2 separate regions of the Homo sapiens genome follow, and region 2 is linked to region 1. Evidence: promoter capture Hi-C in human tissues and cell types (Jung and others, 2019). All regions are on one chromosome and are shown on one strand. The core of a region is centred on a gene start or on the middle of the fragment in contact, and the rest is flanking DNA. Distances in the headings are between cores, read along the strand shown. Region 1 holds the start of C9orf50 (chromosome 9 open reading frame 50). Region 2 overlaps LOC105376291 (a long non-coding RNA gene).

The links. Contacts are between HindIII fragments. The study calls those that stand out against the background at their distance.
Region 2: a fragment that was not itself captured here is called in contact with the fragment with the promoter of C9orf50 in region 1 in 1 of the 25 tissues and cell types used here (dorsolateral prefrontal cortex).

Annotation. Positions count from the first base shown.
Region 1 is chr9:129,617,583-129,624,612 of GRCh38, reverse strand. C9orf50 (chromosome 9 open reading frame 50) reads left to right here and starts at 3,512. Exons shown (of 7, transcript NM_199350.4): 1 at 3,512-4,546; 2 at 4,783-4,873; 3 at 4,977-5,093. The coding sequence starts at 4,039. It also overlaps a transcript of NTMT1 not described here. RefSeq lists enhancers at 330-379, 390-529, 3,400-4,050. The HindIII fragment of the contact is 8,954 bases long and covers 1,964-7,030 here.
Region 2 is chr9:129,442,992-129,450,021 of GRCh38, reverse strand. It overlaps LOC105376291 (a long non-coding RNA gene), which reads right to left. Exons shown (of 3, transcript NR_188645.1): 3 at 2,471-3,250. Among named protein-coding and RNA genes, the nearest start is that of LINC00963, 42 kb to the left of the region's middle. The HindIII fragment of the contact is 6,251 bases long and covers 1-6,227 here.

The DNA.
Region 1 (7,030 bases), core at 2,263-4,762:
CCTTCCTCTGGGCGACGCACACAGAAGGTGCTTAAAGTGTGTTTGCTCTAAATGTGTTGAAAGCTACGGTAGAAAGGGGATGCTAAAAAGCCCCTTCTGCATTGAGTCCGCAGGATGTGTGTATGTGCATCTTATTTGGCATACCCTCTAGACTATTCTAGGTCACAACTGCTACCCCTGGTCTGAGCCCCTCTCCCAAGCTTCATTTTCTGTGTCTTTAAGCAAAGGGATTGATCCTGGGCAATTTCAATCGGTGGGGGTGTCCGGAATCCTCCGCCAGGGGGCAGCTCTGATCCAAGCTCTCTGTATGCCTAAAAATCCAGCCCTGTCTTATTTCCTGTCAACAGAAGAGCAAGCCCCTTCCCCACAGCCACGCTCCAAGGCCTTCCCAGGACTGGCCGGCTCCCTGACCTCAAAGCCTCTGGCATCTCTGAATTCCCAAGCCTAGCACATAGTAGTTCCTTGATAAATATTTGCAGAGTGCAAGGGCTGGAGGGCTCCTTAGAAACCATCTAGTTAGGCCAGGCGCAGTGGCTCACGCCTGTAATCTCAGCACTTTGGGAGGCCGAGGCAGGTGGATCACAAGGGCAGGAGATCGAGACCATCCTGGCTAACACGGTGAAACCCCGTCTCTACTAAAAATACAAAAAAATTAGCCGGGCGTGGTGGTGGGCACCTGTAATCCCAGCTACTCGGGAGGCTGAGGCAGGAGAATGGGGTGAACCCAGGATGCGGAGCTTGCAGTGAGCTGAGATCGCGACTCCGTCTCCAAAAAAAAAAAAAAGAAAAGAAAAGAAAAAAAGAAACCGTCTAGTTAATCTGGTGTTTCGCAGCCATTAAAAAAGACACATACCCTTTAAATAAATACAAAAATATCTCCCTCCCCCACTCAATATTGTAGCTCTCCAGGAAAGTATGTCCCTCCATCCCTGGTGAGAAGCATTGACAGAAAATAGAATATATCTTTGGCGACGCGTTCTCTAGTGAGTCACTCTGTTATTTGAATTACAAAGTCGTTTCTTCATTTTCAAATTATGAAACTATGCCACGCCAGTGAAATACTCATGTAAATGACCTCTGTCTCCCACCCCAGCTTCACAATACTATGAGCTTCCTCTCGGCCCTCTCCCAGCCAAGACTCAGAGATAAGGCCCAGGGAGTCCTGAGAAAGAAGACACTTCTCCAGGATCACACAGCAAAACAGCAGACCATGGACTTGAAAGTGGGTCTGTTAATTTCTTTTCTTCCTTCCTTCCTTCCTTCCTTCTTTTTTTTTTTTTGAGATGGAATCTTGCTCTGTCGCCCAGGCTGGAGTGCAGTGGCGCGATCTCCGCTCACTGCAAGCTCCGCCTCCTGGGTTCACGCCATTCTCCTGCCTCAGCCTCCCGCGTAGCTGGGATTACAGGTACCCGTCACCACAACCAGCTAATTTTTTGTATTTTTAGTAGAGACAGGGTTTCACCGTGTTAGCCAGGATGGTCTCGATCTCCTGACCTCATGATCCACCCGCCTTGTCCTCTCAAAGTGCTGGGATTACAGGCGTGAGCCACCGTGCCCGGCTCTTTCTTTCTTTTTTTTTTTATGGAGATGGAGTCTCACTCTGTTGCCCAGGCTGGAGTGCAGTGGCGTGATCTCGGCTCACTGCAACCTCCGCCTCCCGGGTTCAAGCAATTCTCCTACCTCAGCCCCCCAAGTAGCTGGGACTACAGGCACACGCTGTCACGCCCGGCTAATTTTTTTGTATTTTAGTAGAGACGGGGTTTCACCATGTGGCCCAGGCTGATTGCGAACTCCTGAGCTCAGGCAATCCACCTGCCTCGGTCTCCCAAAGTGTTAGGATTACAGGTATGAGCCACTGGAACCTGGCCTCTTTTTTTTTTGTGAGACAGAGTCTCAAATGATCTGTGTAACGGATTAGAGTTGGAGATGTCAGCATGAGCTCATGTTTAGCTTAATATAAGTACAGATGGTTACCTATAGAAATATTTATAGATATGTGTGTGTTTCATAGTATACACACACATTTCTTTGTCAGCTGAGACTGCCTGAAAGAAATGACATCTCAATAGCAAGAAGCACACCTAGCACCCAGACCTTGGATTATTATTATTATTATTTTTGAGATGGAGTCTCGCTTTGTCACCCAGGCTGGAGTGCAGTGGCATGATCTCAGCTCACTGCAACCTCCGCCTCCCAGGGTCAAGCGATTCTCCTGTCTCAGCCTCCCAAGTAGCTGGGATTATAGGTGCACAACACCATGCATGGCAAATTTTGGTATTTTTTGTAGAGACGAGGTTTCACCATGTTGGCCAGGCTGGTATTGAACTTCTGACCTCAGGTGATCCGCCCGCCTCGGCCTCCCAAAGTGCTGGGATTACAGGCGTGAGACACCGTGCCCCGCAGGGTCTGTTCATTTCTAGGTCCATTGTATTCTGACTGCCTGGTCTTGGGGTGGAAGTTCTACTTCCAGAGCCACCCAGCCTAAGCCTCCCAGATCTGGAAAGGGTAGGCCTGGCTGCCCTGGTCAGAGTCCCAGTGCCCCAGGTGGCTGCGGCCAGGGCATCCAGGGCACAATAGCCCCACCCTTAGTCCCCAGGCCTCAGTGCCCACTGCTACTCAGATGCCCAGGGGTGAGGGGCGGATCACAATGACCCTGAAGCGGCCCAGAGGCAGCCGGGAGGGGCTGGGAGAGGCACCAGGCAGGGATGATGGGCTCTACAGCCTGCCTGTAGAGAGCTCTAAACTCACAGGACCTTCTAGGGCCCCACCCAGAAGCCCACCAGGGTGAGTGTGACACTGCCCAGGAGTCAGCTCAGAGCTGACAACAATCTGGGAGTGGGGTGTGGTTGGGAGGAAGCAGGCTTAGAAACCCCTCAGTGTCAGAGCTGGGAGTAAGACTGGGGCTCTGCCTCCCAAAGGGGGAGTTTGTTAAAAGTCTGTGTCTTGGCCAGAAGTGGGGACTCACGCCTGTGATCCCAGCACTTTGGGAGGCCAAGGCAAGTGGATCACTTGAGCCCAGGAGTTCAAGACCAGCCCGTGCAACATAAATACAAAAAAATTCTACCCCATTTCTACAAAATATACAAAAATTAGCCAACTGTGGTGGTGTGTGCCTGTAGTCCCAGCTACTCAGGAGGCTGAGGCAGGAGGATCACTTGAGCCCAAGAATTTGAGGCTGCAGTGAGCTATGATGGTGCCATTGCACTCCAGCCTGGGTGACAGCAGGACCCCGTCTTAGCAAGACCCCATCTCTTTAACAACAACAACAAGAACAACAAACTGTCTTGGCTCCAGCAGAGACGTACTGAATCAGAATGGGGGCTGGGGGTAAGTCATCTGTATTTTCAACAGGCTCCCCACCCAGGGGTCTCTGAGGCAGCACCAGGGCTGGGAGGCTGCTGGTCAGGTCTCTCTTCCCTCAAGCTGGTTCCAGGTTTCCTAATTCCCAGTAGAGCGCTAATGACGGTAACAGTTCCACGCTTTGAACACTGCAAGGCAGGCTAAGTGCTCTCTCTACCAGCGGTGATGCGGTGATGCCGTTTCACGGCTGCAGAGAGGCAGGTGCTGCTATTATCCCCATTCTGCAGACCAGAGCCCCCAGGGAAGGCAGAGGGAAGTTAATTGGCTTGGCCAAGGTTACAAAGCTAATAAGTGGTGGAGCTGGGACTAAATCCTAAATAATAATAACTTTGAAATACTAAGAATGGCAGCTAGTCTATGTGTAAGCTTGGCCAGCGTGCCTGGCACTGTACCGAGCTTGCTGTTCTAAGACTGGCATGTACTTGCTCATTTAAACGTCACAGCAACCCCCAAAGTTGGCTACTCTTGCTGTCACCATTTTTCAGGTGAGGAAACAGAGGCTCTGGGAGCTCTCGCCTGAAGCCACTCGCTGTCCGCCGGGCCGGTGGCGTTCACCCCGCACCGCGCTGCCCCGCCCGGGGCACTATGGCCTGGGGCTGGACTATGCCCTCCCCACCTCAGCCGGCGCCCCCCACCCACGCGCGCTGAGGGTGCGGTGAGCTGAGTGCGGGGCCAAGCATGTTCTGGCGTCGACTTCGCCCAGGGGCCCAGGACCTGGCGCCCAAGGGGCTCCCTGGCGACGGAGACTTCCGACGCAGCAGCGACCCGCGGCTGCCCAAGCTGACCCCGCCCGCGCTCCGAGCGGCTCTGGGCGCGCGGGGCTCCGGGGACTGGAGGATCCCGGGGGGCGGCGCCGCGTGGTGGCCGGAAGGGGACGCCAAGCCCGGGGTGGGCGTCGGACGCCTCCCGCCGCGCCTGCCCGCCTTGCTCACCGCGACCCGGCGGGCCGTGCGGAAGCGGGGGCTGCTGCGGTCCCTGCTGCCGCCTCCCCTGCTGTCGGCCGGCGCGTCCCGGGAATCGGCGCCCAGGCAGCCAGGGCCTGGAGAGCGCGAGCGCCCCCGGAGGCGCGTGGCCAGGGAGGACCCCGACTTCTTGGGCGCCTTCCTAGGAGAGCTCCTCCCCAGCAGGTTCCGTGAGTTCCTGCACCAGCTCCAGGAGAAGTGCGCCGAGGAGCCGGAGCCACTGAGTGAGGCCCCGCGGGGCCCGGGGGGCGGGCCCGAGTCATTTCCGGTGGGGGGTGGTCCCTTGTGTCCCCGCACCCACCACCCCACCACCCAGGCTAGAAGGATGCTAATGTTAGCTGAGTATCTCAGAGCCCTCGCAACCCGTCCTTGAGGGCTGGTCTGCCATCACCCCGAGGCCACATGACTAGAAAGGACCGTCCCCCAGCCAAGGCTCACAACTGTTTCCTCCTGGCTCCAGCATCCCCAGCACCGCAACATCAAAGGGGTGTATTAGAGCACTGCCCAGGGTCTCCGCGGTGTCCCAACTGTTCATTCCTCCCAGACCTGTGGTAAGCGTCAGTCCGCTTCTTGGTGGGGACGGGGTTGCCATCGATGTTTCCAGGGCGGGACAGCCTGGCCACTCATGCCAGATGTGGCCTGTTTGTCTTTAAGGGGCCAGTCATCGCACCTCCAGGATAGTCTTACGAAGATTTCGCTCCAGCAGACACCTATTCTGGGGCCCCTGAAGGGTGATCACTCACAATTCACCACTGTCAGAAAGGCCAACCAGTGAGTGATGGGCGGGATAAGGGTAGGGTAGTGGAGGAAAGGGGCATTTCTTTCCTTCTTTCTTTCCTCTTTCGCCCATGAATGTATTCATTTATCCACCTATCTACCCATTCATCCATCCTTACATATGGCTGTCCGTGAATCAGATCTTCTACCAACCCATTCAAGATTCATTCGCCAGTTCATCAATGAATCAACCCATCCATTAATGAGGTCTTCTACCAACACATAATTCATCCATGAATCTATTCATATATTCATTTTCCCATTCACCCATCCATCTTTGCATCCATCTCATCCATGAACCAAGTCTTCTACAACCCGTTCATGAATCTCTCCATCTATCCATCCATCCTTCTGTCCACCCATTAATCTATCATGGACCCATGACTCCATCCATCCATACATTCACTCACCCACCCACCCATGAATCAGGTGTCCTGTGGATCCATTCATCTACCTGGCCAACCAGCTAGCCAGTCATCCATCTAAAACTCCCACACTTCGGCAGGGCACGGTGGCTCACACCTGTAATCCCAGCACTTTGGGAGGCTGAGGTGGGCGGATCACGAGGTTAGGAGATTGAGACCACCCTGGATAACACGGTGAAACCCCGTCTCTACTAAAAATATACAAAAAAAAAAAAAAAAACACAAAAAATTAGCCGGGCGTGGTGGCGGGCGCCTGTAGTCCCAGCTACTCGGGAGGCTGAGGCGAGAGAATGGTGTGAACCCGGGAGGCGGAGCTTGCAGTGAGCTGAGATTGTGCCATTGCACTCCAGCCTGGGTGACAGAGTGAGACTCCATCTCAAATAAAAATGAAATAAAATAAAATAAAATAAATAAAAAATAAAACTCCCACACTTCTATCCATCCATCCATTGATCCAATGACCAACCATCTACAAATCCTTCCATCCACTTGTAAACCCAGGACACTGTCCATCGCTAATCTAGTCATAAAGCCATCCACAAACCTACATACCCATCTACATAATCATCCAGCCACGCATCTGTCCATCTACCCATACATTCATAGTTCAGTTCTATTCAGACCCTTTCATTAACTCACCCATCAGTCCATCCACCCATCAACCCACCCACCCAGTCTTCCATCATTTTACCCATCCCACCATCATTTGTCCATTTCTTACTCTAACTTTTATTAGGTTTTACTATATGTTGAATATTGGGAGAAAACTAAGGGATGGAGGTAAGAGAAGAGCCTAGGAATTGGAACCTACCTGGGCCTAGACACCATAGTTTTAACAGAGGAGGAAAAGAAGACAGAAACAGTTCCTCCAGGTTAAAATTCCTCCAGGCTTAAGCAGGGGTGAAGGGTGAATGGCACTGCCCATGAGTTTAAAGACCAGGGAGAGTAAATACATCACAAACATATCATTCTTCCTCATCTCATACCCACAGCAGACAAAACTAATGGATCATATTTCCCCACTGAGCCTCAGAACCATTCCTCACACAGTACTCTAGGTAGATACTCCTGATGGATCAGGGTAGGAACTAGAAATGGAACACATGGCCAAGCATGGTGGCTCATGCCTATAATCCCAGTGCTTTGGGAGGCTGAGGCAGGAGGATCGCTTGAGCCCAGGAGTTTGAGACCAGCCTTGGTAACATGGTGAAACCCTGTCTCTACAAAAATTACAAAAATTAGCTGGGCGTGGTGGTGCATGCCTGTGGTTCCAGCTACTCGGGAGGCTGAGGTGGGAGGATTGCTTGAGCCTGGGAGGTTGAGGCTGCAGTGAGCCAAGATCGTGCCACTGCACTCCAGCCTGGGTGACAGAGCAAGACCCTGTCTCAAAAAACAAACAAACAAACAAAAACAGTGAAACACATTTACCAACCTCAGAACGTTCAACCAATCAGGCCAAATATACACATGACTTCTCACAAGATACAAATAAATAAAAGTATGGAA
Region 2 (7,030 bases), core at 1,853-4,352, 170 kb after region 1:
TTTGGTAGGCCGAGGTGGGCGGATCATGAGGTCAGGAGTTCGAGACCATCCTGGCCAACATGGTGAAATCCTGTCTCTACTAAAAATACAGAAATTAGCCGGATGTGTTGGCGTGCGCCTGTAATCCCAGCTACCCAGGAGGCTGAGGTAGGAGAATCGTTTGAACTCGGGAGGCGGAGGTTGGAGTGAGCTGAGATGGCACCACTGCACTCCAGCCTGGGTGACAGAACAAGACTCCATCTCAAGAAAAAAAAAAAGTGATAAAATAAGCATAAATAACTTATTTGGGAGTGGAGAGAGATGTGTGGAAACCCAGACTGGTGCCCGTGTAACCCAAATAAAAGCTGGGCTTCCATGTAGTTCAGTCGCTGCCTCCTGGGACCTGATAATCCAGCAGTCACAAGTCATTTAAACGAACTTTCTGAATGTCCTTGTGACTCCCGAAGAGCCTCAAAGGGGCCGAATTCAAACCCCACAGCAACAGCTCTCACCAGCGCCCGTTTCCTTGCTCCGGTTCTCTCCATTAGACTGGCTGTTGTTTTGCGCATGCTGGAGGCTGCCTGACAGTCCTGACACCAGCCTGCATTCTCCCCTTCTCCCTCGAATATTTGTTATGTAATGTGTTCAGTGGGCAGACCCTTCCCCGCCCGTCCTCATGATCCATGCCCCTCTGGTGAGTGGTTCAGAGCCCACGCTCTGGAGCGAGACCCTCTGGGTCCAAATCCTGGCCCCGCGAGTCACACGCTGTGACTTGACCCCGCGCTACCCAAGGCGCGGTCCGAGGATCAGTGCTGGGCCACACACTGTTTGTGGACACGACACGCTAACTATAGAACTGAGGATAAGCATTTAGCAACTTTCATAGCAATTTGACACTGCCTACATCCCATTGTGACTGTGTATATTATAAAAATATCATTCCTGACAGATTGGAACATTTTTTCTCGAAGTTCCTTCATCACAGATAGTTTGGGAAGCACGGATTCAGCCTACTGTGTGCCTCAGTTTTCTCACTAGTGAAATGGGAATAATGATGGTCTGTAACCTCACCACATCCCTGAGAAAGTGTAAAGGAGTAAAATTAGGGAGGGCTCTGAGGCTGGGGGCTGGGCATTGCAATCGCTCAGTAAATGTCAGTGTCACTATCATTTTGACACATTCTCCAGATTCTGCATTACAAACACCAGATTCTCCTCTGAGGGCAGAGGAGGAATTGTTGGGGAGAGAGTGGACCCCATTCAGTGTATCCTACCCCACCCCAAGTTCCTATAGCTTTTAGCCAATCCTTGAGATTGGAACACCTCTATCACTGCATCCAAAACCTTTCAGGTTTCCAAAGGAACTACTGGGTAGTTTATTCATCCACTTAACAAATATCTAGGGCCAGCACCATGGCTCACGCCTGCAATCCCAGCATTTGGGAGGCTGAGGTGGGCAGGTCGATTAAGCCTAGCAGTTTGAGACCAGCCTAGGCAAGATGGCAAAAGCTCATTACTACAAAAAAAAAAAAAATGCAAAAATGGCTGGGCACGGTGGCTCACGCCTGTAATCCCAGCACTTTGGGATGCTGAGGAGGGCAAATCACCTGAGGTCAGAAGTTCGAGACCAGCCTGACCAATATGGAGAAACTCTGTCTCTACTAAAAATACAAAATTAGCTGAGTGTGGTGGTGCATGCCTGTAATCCCAGCTACTCAGGAGGCTGAGACAGGAGAATAGCTTAAACCCCGGAGGCAAAGTTTGCAGTGAGCTGAGATTGTGCCTTTGCACTCCAGCCTGGGCGACAGAGCGAGACTCCGTCTCAAAAAAAAAAAAAAAAAAAAAAAGCAAAAATTAGCCGGATGTGGTAGCGTGCACCTGTGGTCCCAGCTACTCGGGAGGCTGAGGTAGGAGGATCACCTGAGCCCAGGGAGGTCGAGGCTGCAGTGAGCCATGATTGTGCCGCTGCACTCCAGCCTGGATGACAGAGAGAGACCCTGTCTCAAAATAAAATTAAAAAATAAAATAAAACCAAATATCTATAGCCCACGTACAGGGTGAGAGCTGGAGAGTCTAGTGGTTAGGAACTTTGGAGCAAGATGGCCCTGGGGTCCAGTCTTGGCCCTGCCACTTACTACCTGAGTGGCCTTGGGCAACTCACTTAACCTCTCTGAGCCACAGTGTTCCCAGAAGAGAGTCAGGAGGAGTCCTAAGCTCGGGACTCAGTTCAAAGCTGAGATTTGGCCTTCAATGTGCACATACCTGCAGAAAGCCTGGCCACCCCAGACACTCACTACATCCAGGCTTGGATTTACAGGCTGTGGTGACCTCCCAGGTTCCCTACCCTCAATGAGTTCCTGTGGATTAAGAAGGAACGGGTGGTGCCTTGACATATCAAACTTGTCAGGTGTTACTTCTAGAAAAATAAATGAATTTAAGGGCTTTGAATATTTGAGAATGGAGAGATTTAAAAATGTAAAGGTTTCTTAAGATGGATAGAAGACTTACCAATTGGATTTGTATTCTGTGGAACAGGGAGGCTTGTGTGAGGCCTCTCTCTAGAAAACGCAGCTCTGTTTAAAGGGAAAAGTGCAGGCAGGCTGGCCAACCCACGTGATGGCTCTTGAAGCTTCTCTTTTGAATGGCCTGCTAGGACTTGGGCTCCGGATTCACTGGCTAACGCAAGTCACGTGGCCAAACATGATTTGGTGGGGAGGGGAAGTGTACCCAGCACTGGATGCTCTGCATGTCACGTAGCAATGGGGCAGGATGGATAATCCTCTCACTGAGGGGATGGTGAATAACTGGAAACAGTGACCAATCTGCTGCCGTTCACCATCTTGGTTGCAAATATCACTCCCGTCTCTTGCATGGGCGTGGTGGATTGGAGATGGCTGCAGATTCTTAGTCATTACTCTCAGCAAGACCTGGAGTCTTTTCCTCCTCCCCTTGGATCTGGGCTGACTCCAGGACTGGCTTTCATCAACAGGATGCAGCAGAAGCGACGCTGTGTGACTTCCGAGGCTGAGGCTGCAGAGATTTGAGGCATCTGCTCTCACCCAGCTTGAAGTGCTTCCTCTTGGAAGCCAGCCACCGTGAAAAACCCCGCCATGCTGTGAGGAAGCCCAAGAGAGCTGCATGGAGAGAAGGGCCTGTGGAAGAGCCCTGAGGTGCCACTCACATGAAGTGAACCTTTGTGGACCTTCCAGCCCAGCTACCAGCAAAACGCAAGCAGCGAGTGTCCCCAGTCAACGCTTCTCTCTATAGGAGACCTGTAAATGGGGTGGCGGGGGGAGCAGGAGGAATTTTCTGATCTCACACACTGTTATGAGTTGAATTGTCTCCCCACCCAAATTCATATGTTGAAGCCCCCACCTTCAGTACTTTACAAAGTAATGTATTTGGAGATAATATCTTTTTTTTTTTTTTTTTTTGAGACAGAGTCTCACTCTGTCGTTGCTCAGGCTGGAGTGCGGTGATGCGATCTCAGCTTGCTGCAACCTCTGTTTCCCGGGTTCAAGAGATTCTTGTGCCTCAGCCTCCCGAGTAGCTGGGATGAGAGGCGTGGTGTTGCATGCTAATTTTTTAGCTTGGACTACTATTTTTGTATTTTAGTAGAGACCGGGTTTCACCATGTTGGCCAGGTTGGTCTTGAACTTCTGACCTCAAATGATCTTCAAATTTTTTGTAATTTTTTAGCGTGGGCTAGTTTTTTTGTATTTTTAGTGGAGAGGGGGTTTCACCATGTTGGCCAGGCTGGTCTGGAACTTCTGACCTCAAAGGATCTGCCTTCCTTGGCCTCCCAAAGTGCTGGGATTACAGGCGTGGGCCACTGTGCCTGGCTGGAGATAAAATCTTTAAAGTGGCAATTCAATTAAAATGAAGTCGTCAGGGTGGGCCTTAATCCAATGTGTCTAGTGTCCTTATAAGAAGGAAATGTGGACTCACAGACTGAGGCGTCAGGCAGGTGTGCACAGGCAGGAGGCCACCTGAGGACACAGGCGAGCCAGGGAGGGAGGGCCTTGGAAGAAACCAGCCCTGCTGGCACCTTGATCTTGGACTTCCAGCCCCCAAAGCTGTGAGAAAATACATTTTTATTATTCAAGACACCCAGTATGTGGTATCTCGTTATGGTGGCCCCGGCAAAGTAATACACTCAACATACAATGGTGGAATAGGATGACCCACAAACGCTCTCCGTTGGAAAGGAGAAGAACAAGACTGGGCGCAATGGCTCACGCCTGTAGTCCCAGCACTTTGGGAGGCTGAGGTGGGCGGATCACTTGAGGCCAGGAGTTCAAGACCAGCCTGGACAACATGGCGAAACCCATCTCTACTAAAAATACAAAAATTAGCCAGGCATGGTTGCATGCACCTGTAATCCCAGCTACTTGGGAGGCTGAGGCATGAGAATTGCTTGAACTCAGGAAGTGGAGGCTGCAGTGAGCCAAGATTGCACCACTGCACTCCAGCCTGGGTGATACAGTGAGAGCAAAGAAAAAAGAAAGAAAGAGAGAGAGAGAGAAAAGAGAAAGGAAGGAAGGAAGGAGGAAGGAAGGAAGGAAGGAAGGAAGGAAGGAAGGAAGGAAGGAAGGAAGGAAGGAAGGAAAGAGAAGAGGAGAGAAGAGAAGAGAAGAATAGAGGCGGTGTGGTGGCTCACACCTGTAACCCCAGCATTTGGGGAGGCCAAGGTGCGGGGGTCGCTTGAGCCCAGGAGTTTAAGACCAGCCTGGGCAACATAGCAAGACCCCGTCTCTACAAAACAATACAAAAATTAGCCAGGCATGGTGGTTCATGCCTGTAGTCCCAGCTACTCAGGAGGCTGAGGCAGGAGGATCACCTGAGCTGGGAGGTTGAAGCTGCAATGAACTGTCATCACACCACTGTATTCCAGCCTGGGCGACAGAGCAAAACTCTGTCTTAAAAGTTAAAAAAGGGCCGGGCGTGGTGGTTCACACCTGTAATCCCAGCACTTTGGGAGGCTGAGGCGGGTGGATCACCTGAGGTCAGGAGTTCAAGACCAGCCTGGCCAACATGGTGAAACCCCATCTCTACTAAAAATACAAAAATTAGCTGGGCGTGGTGGTGGGCACCTGTAATCCCAGCTACTCAGGAGGCTGAGGCAGGAGAATCGCTTGAACCCAGGAGGCAGAGGCTGCAGTGAGCCGAGACTGTGCCACTGCCCTCTAGCCTGGGTGACAGAGTGAGACTCCGTGTCAAACAAACAAACAAGCAACAACAACAACAAAAACAAAATTTAAAAAAAAGAAAGGAGAGGGGTGGAGCAGTAGCAAGTGCTGGTCCTCATGAGTTCTGAGTCCTGCTGGGTGGATTCGGCAAGTGCCACCTGCCCTGGGGAAAGAAACCCCTCGACCAGGCCCCATGGTGCTCTCTGGAAATTACTCCCGACTCCCCTGTTCTCCTGCCCTTGGGCCGTCCTCTGGGAGGCCTCCTTTTCTATAACCTCCTTGACCACACGGGATGAGGACCCTGGAGAAGAGGGTTTCCCTGGGGGCTGAGCAGCTTCCTCGGGCTGCTTCCCCGTTGGCGCCCAGAAGTGGTTTTGTGTTGTTGACGGTCACAGTCTCTTTTAATCCAGCTGACAGCTCTGCGGACAGTGCCACCCTCTTTAAAACTTTGTAACTTTTGCCCAATTGTTGTCACTCAGCTCTTTTTGCCAAAGATACACCCAAGGCCGGGTGCGGTGGCTCACGCCTGTAATTCCAGCACTTTGGGAGGCCAAGGTGGAAGGATCACCTGAGGTTGGGAGTTCAGGACCAGCCTGGCCAACATGGAGAAACCCTGTCTCTACTAAAAATACAAAATTAGCCGGGCATGGTGGCGCATGCCTGTAACCCCAGCTACTCGGGAGGCTGAGGCAGGAGAATCACTTGAACCCGGGAGGCGGAGGTTGCCGTGAGCTGAGATCGCACCATTGCACTCCAGCCTGGGCGACAGAGCGAAACTCTGTCTCAAAAAAAAAAAAAAAGACACACCTAACTTTCTTCTAGACATGGCTTTCTAGACAGAACTGTGGGCCTGCAAGCTTTTCTGAGGTTTCAACAAAGGGCGTGATGGCCACACCCTTGGTATGATCTTTACCCTGAGACTGAGTCTTAACTGGGCTCTATCACACAGAGTGTTTCTTAGTTTTATTATTATTATTTTCTTAAGCCCAGAATATTCTTTATTGACTATTTGTAGAGTATCCATTTTAAAGAGTCTTCACAGAAAGTTTAAAATTCATAATTAGCTGGGCATGGTGGCACATGCCTGTGGTCCCAGCTACTCAGGAGGCTGAGGAAGGAGGATTGCTTAAGCCCAGGAGGTCAAGGCTGCAGTGAGCTGGGATCGTCACTGCATTCCAGCCTGGGTGACAGAGTAAGACCCTGTCTCAAAAAAAAAAAAAAAGAAAAGAAAAGAAAAGGAAGAAGAAGAAGAAGAAAGAAAGCTTAAAATTCACAATTAGACTTCTCAAACAATACATTTCTGGGGACAGACAAAGTTAAATTTAAAACTCTTATCTGCTCCAAGATCATATTGTGTGTTCCAAGCACAAATATGTCAGAAATTTTTTCTAAAATGTCATTTGGCACTTGAGTCTTGCAGAAGCGACAAACTGCCAGAGGGGCAGGGACTGTGTCTGTTTTGCCCACTTATTATGCAAAAGAGCAGGATTTTCCAAAAATGGCCCTGGGTGCTCACTCTAGGTTGTCTGGGTGATGAACTGGCAGGATGGGGTGGAGAATTGGATCGCACCTTTTTCCAACTCGGGGATAAGTGGTTCGTGCCCAAGCACAGCTTCCCTGGCCCACCCCAGCCTTCTCCCAGCTGGGGGCACAGCACCCAAGCTCAGCCTCCTGCAGCACAGGTGGCCTCCTGCACGTGACAGTGTCTGGATCCTCCCACGGACTATGGACCTTTGGGCACTGGGCGCCTGGAGCACTCACTTAGTTGCTCTTTCATTGGACCGAGATGAGGAATAGTTGCCTTTTTCAATCCTGCAAATCCAACATTTCTGGATTTTCTCTTTCCCTTTCATTTCTGCTTGC